2 separate regions of the Homo sapiens genome follow, and region 2 is linked to region 1. Evidence: promoter capture Hi-C in 16 types of primary human blood cells and fetal thymus (Javierre and others, 2016). All regions are on one chromosome and are shown on one strand. The core of a region is centred on a gene start or on the middle of the fragment in contact, and the rest is flanking DNA. Distances in the headings are between cores, read along the strand shown.

Region 1 (3,035 bases), core at 291-2,790:
TCTTATGTACCCCATAAATATATACACCTACTGTATACCTACAAAAATTAAAATACAAAATTTTAAAAAGAAATATTCTATTACATAAGCATGTATATACATATATTCCTTAAAAATACAAACTGGAAAATGAGTTCTTGCTAAACAATATATGTTAGAGATCTTTTTTTTTCTTTTTTTTTTTTTTTGAGATGGAGTCTCGCTCTGTCACCCTGGCTGGAGTGCAGTGGCACAATCTCAGCTCACTGTGACCTCCACCTCTCGGGTTCAAGGGATTCTCATGCCTCAGCCTCCGAGTAGCTGGGATTACAGGTGCCCACCACCACGCGTGGCTAAGTTTTGTATTTTTAGTAGAGACAAGGTTTCACCATGTTGGCCAGGCTGGTCTCAAACTTCTGACCTCAAGTGATCCACCTGCCTCGGCCTCCCAAAGTGCTAGGATTACAGGCGTGAGCCACCGCACACAACCTACATAGGATTTTAAGTATGCATACGTTCTCATTTACTTGGCCAATATCTTATTTATGGATATAATTTTTTCTAGTCATTTATTTTCTCAAGCAATGCTGCAACAAATATCTTTTCACATAAGTCTTTGTGTACAAGTGTAAACATATAGCTTGGACAAATTTATAAAAAATACAATTGTTGGGTCAAAGGGTATGAATATTTGTATTTGAGAGATACTGGGAAATTGCCCTCTAAATATGTTTACAATCTCATCAGTAGTGTTTGAGAGTGCTTGTTTCTTCACAACTTTGCCCACACCATGTATTATTGTTTTGACCTTCGGTATTTGGAGAGGGAAAACTTTTTTCTTTTTTTTTTCTTTTGAGACGGAGTCTCGCCCTGTCGCCCAGGCTGGAGTGCAGTGGCGCGATCTCGGCTCACTGCAAGCTCCACTTCCCGGGTTCACGCCATTCTCCTGCCTCAGCCTCCCGAGTAGCTGGGACCACAGGCGCCCGCCACCGCGCCCGGCTAATTTTTTGTATTTTTAGGAGAGACGAGGTTTCGCCGTGTTTGCCAGGATGGTCTCGATTTCCTGACCTCCTGATCCACCTGCCTCGGCCTCCCAAAGTGCTGGGATTACAGGCGTGAGCCACTGCGCCCGGCCGAGAAAATTTTTTTCATTTACATTTTTAAAAATTATAAGTACCATTGAGAAATAATACTTCTTAAAAATTATAGATTAGTAACGAAACAGAATTTCCTAAAGTCATATGTGACTTTGGCTTTCTTTTGGGTGAAGGATCCCAGATAATGTACTTTTCTAGAAAGGAAATTTAATTCTGTTGCTAGGGTTCTTACAAAATGTGTAACCATAAACTATTTTAATAAGAGACAGTTTCGTAGATAGGTTTCATTTTTCGAAAAAGGGGAAGAAACACCATTCTGTGGCTTGATGTGGCTTTGTCAGTTACTGCCTCCCCACCTCCCGGGACTTCCCACTGCCTCTTTAGCACAAATCGGACTTGAACAAAAACAACTCTTTTTCCATGGGACCAATTATAAAAAGAATGGCTTTGCACTGAGCAGCTCAGTCTACTGGTCTCATCAGTGAAAGGCTTGTGAAAATTTCTGGAAAGAGCATTGGCTGGCTTGTTCATCTCTCTGTTTGGTCAGTTGCTGTGTTTCTGCCGGATCAGATGAGCAGATTGGTTAGTGAAGGTAAGAAAAAGAAAGCAAAGGACCCTAGAACTCCGCTATTATTTTTTGTCATCTGTCTTCTCACGCTTTCTTAGCCCTTTATCACGAGAGCGCTGATCCATTCTTATGACATCTAAAATGCTTTTCTAGCTTACCATATCAGAGACAAGTGGGAGTTTAAACAAGCATTCAGTGGAGTTGAAAAATAAAGAGAAATTAAGCCCAATACTTCCTTTCCTTACCTCCTCGTGTCCACATTCTAAGCATTTCTAAAACACTTATATTTTTACCTACAATTTTTGACTGATCTGAGCAAATATTTATTGTGTTATTTTTGCAGTCCTCTTTCACTAATTGCCACACTGGTTTAGCTTCTGCATTTTTAAAAGAAGGCCTAAAAACCTAAGCAGGGTTTTGCAGGGACAACACAGCTCTTGAATTCAGTTACGGTGATGCAGTTTTAGAGACGAAAACAATCACAGTCCTTTCCAATTGGATTTGACTCTCAATTATTCAGTTCAGCAAGCTTGTGATAGTGTTTTTCTGTGTGGCAGGATGTATTCAAAATGAATGCGATCTATAGTGAGGATGCTTTTCGACTTTCATCTGGGTGATTTGGGGAAAGCTTCCCTTTTGGTATTAAAGATAGCGCATGTACGAGTGGAGTTTTGTTTGAATTATCTTTAGACTCGCTCAAACATTCTTTGTCTTGCGCATATGAATCTGTGCTTAAATATAGACCTGGTTTGGACAGAATATTTATATTGATATTTTATAACATTTCTTGCATAGGTCAGTGTGAGAAGAAGATTGTTTCTGAGCTTGAGAAGCTTCTGGAGGATTGAAGAGTATTTGAAGTCTGTGTCAAACATCCATATCATAAGTGGAATTTTGGAGATATTCAAAGGTAGTACACTAATTCTATTATCTCAGAGCAAAATGATGTTTGAAGTATTTATATCAAGTCACTGAGACATTTCTCATCTCATATGTAGTGATTATTTTAGATATATAAGATATTGTCCCTCTAGGCTCTTAATAAACATTATACAATGTAAATATGCCTTCATTAACTAAATATGGTTTTTTCCCCCTCCCAATTTTTATTTAGAAATGTTTCAAATCTATATAAAAATTGAAAGAATAGTACAACGAACACCCATATTTTCATCATGTGTATTAATCAGTGGTATCTTTTTGCCACATTTACTTTCTCTCTCGCTTTGTCTTTCTCTGTCTCTGCCTGTCCTTTTCTCTCTCTCTATATGTGTATATATATATTCACACACACGCATGCACATATGCACAGTTTTTTCCCTGAATGGTTTGAAAGTATGTTGCTGACTTTAGGACACATGTCACCCCTAAATTCTTGAGCATGTATCTCC
Region 2 (3,360 bases), core at 293-2,792, 120 kb before region 1:
AACAGTTAATTTATGTCATAAATACTGGTTTTTATTTTGATCATGATGGCCAGCATTCTAGGAAGAAAAATGAGATTTAAGTGGCTGATTGTAGACTTGACAACCTTAATTTTAAAAAAAGACACATTAACTCAAGGCAATATTTAATGATATTAAGGAATTAGGAGAACTAAGAAATAGGATCCCCAGCCGGGCACTGTGCCTCCTGCCTGTAATCCCAGCACTTTGGGAGGCCGAGGTGGGAGGATCACCTGAGGTCAGGACTTGAAGACCAGCCTGGCCAACATGGTGAAACCCCATCTCCACAAAAATACCAAAATTAGCCGGGCATGATGGCGGGTACCTGTAATCCCAGCTACTCAGGAGGCTGAGGTGGAAGAATCACTTGAACTCAGGAGGCGGGGTTGCAGTGAGCCAAGATCATGCCATTGCACTCCAGCCTGGGTGACAGAGTGAGCCTCCGTCTCAAAAAAAAAAAAAAAGTGTGTGTGTATATATATATATAAAACGTATGTGTGTATATATATATATAACATGTTATATATATACATGTTATGTATAACATGTTGTATATATACATGTTATACATAACATGTATATATAACATGTTATACATAACATGTATATATAACATGTATATATATAACATATATATAAAACATATATATATATATAAAATCCCTGAAGTAGGGGTGATGTACTAGGATGAGCACCAAACTAAAGCTTTGGACCTGACTCCTTGGTCTGCCATGTATGAGCAAGTCTCCCAGGCTCTGGGAGCTTTAGATATCCCGTCTGTTAAAGTGAGGGCAAGAATAGAATTCACCTCACATAGCTATGATAATGAAGAAATAATAGCATAAATGTAGAAACCCTTTACAAAATAGAAAATGTCCTCTAGATAGCTGGTATCATTTTATTTCTTTCTTGTTTTCTGGTTAATTCAAAACCTGCTATTTTCTTTTCTTTTTTTTTTTTTTTTTTGAGATGGAGTTTCACTCTTGTTGCCCAGGCTGGCATGCAATGGCACCATCTCGGCTCACCACAACCTCCGCCTCCTGGGTTCAAGTGATTCTCCTGCCTCAGCCTCCCGAGTAGCTGGGAATACAGGCATGTGCCAGCACACCCGGCTAATTTTTTTTTTTTTTTGAGACGGAGTCTCCCTCTCGCCCAGGCTGGAGTGCAGTGGCGCGATCTCGGCTCACTGCAAGCTCCGCCTCCCAGGTTCACGCCATTCTCCTGCCTCGGCCTCCCAAGTAGCTGGGATTACAGGCACCCGCTACCATGCCCGGCTAATTTTTTTGTATTTTTAGTAGAGACGGGGTTTCACCATGTTAGCCAGGATGGTCTCGATCTCCTGACCTCGTGATCCGCCCGCCTCGGCCTCCCAAAGTGCTGGGATTACAGGCGTGAGCCACCGTGCCCAGCAAAACCTGCTATTTTCATTTACTGTATATATTCTTTGAAAATCTGAACCTGGATATTAAGTAAAGGGTAAATTTCATAAAAGGCTTAAAGTGAATCTATAGGAAACCTAGAGGCTATATATCTTGATATATTTAAGTATTACAAGAAGTCTTTGCTTATACTTTCAAAATTAACAAACTATCAACAGGATCTACTATGTGTGTTCAGGCATGTAAAGTGCTCTTTTTTCTTCAGAGGGAGGGACCTCTGATGCTCCTCCTGGAGCATCCTTGATGAAGCATGCAGAAAAAGTAACAGTGCATTTCCAACTAACTGGTCTGGAAAGGTGGTCAATATATCATTTAAAATAGACATTTCAAACTGTATCTATCTAATTGCCCTATTATGGTAAAGCCCAAAGCACATCACAGTTGTACTTTATGAGAATATCAGAATCTCTCATTCCAGGAAACTACCTTAGTCTTTTATTTTAGAACATTACTCTTTAAAAACAAACAAGATTAAGTTTTTGTAAAAATTAAAATCTGACTAGAGCTTATAATAATTTGGAAGGTCACGGAAATTCTAGATATATATGTTTAGTAAATGGACTTCTGCTTGTCTAAAAATAAATGGAAGTGCACTGTATCTTTTCCAAATGAATGGGTACATAATTGGCGGGCAACCTACTCACCACGCTATGAGAGATTTTCTATAGTCAGCAAGGGGGAGAGAGAAGGATAGAAGCATAATATTTTAAATACAAGAGAAAACTAGGCCAGTTCCACGTTTTTTTTTCTAACCATCCTGTGAAACTATTTCTCAAGCATCGTTTCTTTTTCCTTGACCCAAGTCAGTTTGCAGACAGCTATGAAATGATCAAAGCACTTTTACTGTAGATAAGCAGTGACTATGGCTTCCTTAAGAAATTCTATGTTGCCTTAAAAAGCTTTATTATAAATAAAACAGTTAAAAATTCTTGCTCAAGCTTTATCCAGAGCACTTAGTGTTCATCTATATTATTATTAACTTTGTAAGTGAAGTTTCTCATATCTTTCATGAAATGTCTAAGCAATACTTTTTGTAATTTATCAGACTTATTCCTGAGTCTTATCATAAATTCCAGATTTTTGTGCTCAAACACCAGTGCAAATCCTCCTAGAGGTTTTCATTCCTGATGTTTAACCACAGACTCTTAATGATGCTAGGCACACTTTTGCTGAAGCTATGTCTTTACTGGATTTCAGTGAAATCAAAAGTAAAAATGTCCATTACAGAAACTAGTTTAATTAGCAATCCCAAATCAGAAACAGACTCTTTGCTTTCAGTTTCTTTGCTAAATTTTGCTCAGGCAAAGAATCTAATATATAACATAGCTTGGCCATAAAAAAGATTCAACGGGAAAAAGAACACTACTAAATATGCAGAGTCTCTCCGCTAAATTAAAAGCAGACATCACAACCACTAAACAGTTATTTGGATTCAAAGAATAAATTGGCTCATGCCAACATCTAAAGTTAGAGTATCCCATCAATTCTTTAAAAATAATAATACTCAAAGAAAAACCAATTAAAGTTTATAAATGCAAATCCATTGTAAAAAGGACTGTAAAGTTTTTAAGTCACAAAACATAACACAGTTGACTTTTGAATTATGAATAGTAAACTTGTTTTGTAATAAAAAAACTTTAATTATTAGGTTTTTTTTTGTTTGTTTTTTGGTTTTTTGGTGTGTTTTTTGTTTGTTTGTTTGTTTTTTACCATTAGGCCATAGATCTCAGAAGAACTCCGGACATTTGGAAGAATTTCCATTGGAATTCCAAAAAATCTGAAAAACAAGAAGATTGGGTATTTAACACTGTTTTAAATAGACATCTAGAAACATTTATATGTATTTAAATGCAAAAAGCATAAATAACAATTAGAAATGGATGTTTTTGAGCATGGAGTTAGA

Evidence for each region. The method cuts DNA at HindIII sites, captures the fragments that hold promoters and counts their contacts. A CHiCAGO score of 5 or more calls a contact.
Region 2: a fragment that was not itself captured here is called in contact with the fragment with the promoter of TASL in region 1 in 2 of 17 cell types (neutrophils and monocytes); the score reaches 8.4 in neutrophils.

The regions. Positions count from the first base shown.
Region 1 is chrX:30,576,271-30,579,305 of GRCh38, reverse strand. It overlaps TASL (TLR adaptor interacting with endolysosomal SLC15A4), which reads left to right and starts at 1,540. Exons shown (of 3, transcript NM_025159.3): 1 at 1,540-1,668; 2 at 2,440-2,554. RefSeq lists an enhancer at 1,309-1,518. The HindIII fragment of the contact is 8,514 bases long and covers 1-2,175 here.
Region 2 is chrX:30,696,491-30,699,850 of GRCh38, reverse strand. It overlaps GK (glycerol kinase), which reads right to left. Exons shown (of 21, transcript NM_001205019.2): 8 at 3,168-3,234; 9 at 2,102-2,119. Among named protein-coding and RNA genes, the nearest start is that of GK-AS1, 20 kb to the left of the region's middle. The HindIII fragment of the contact is 1,633 bases long and covers 726-2,358 here.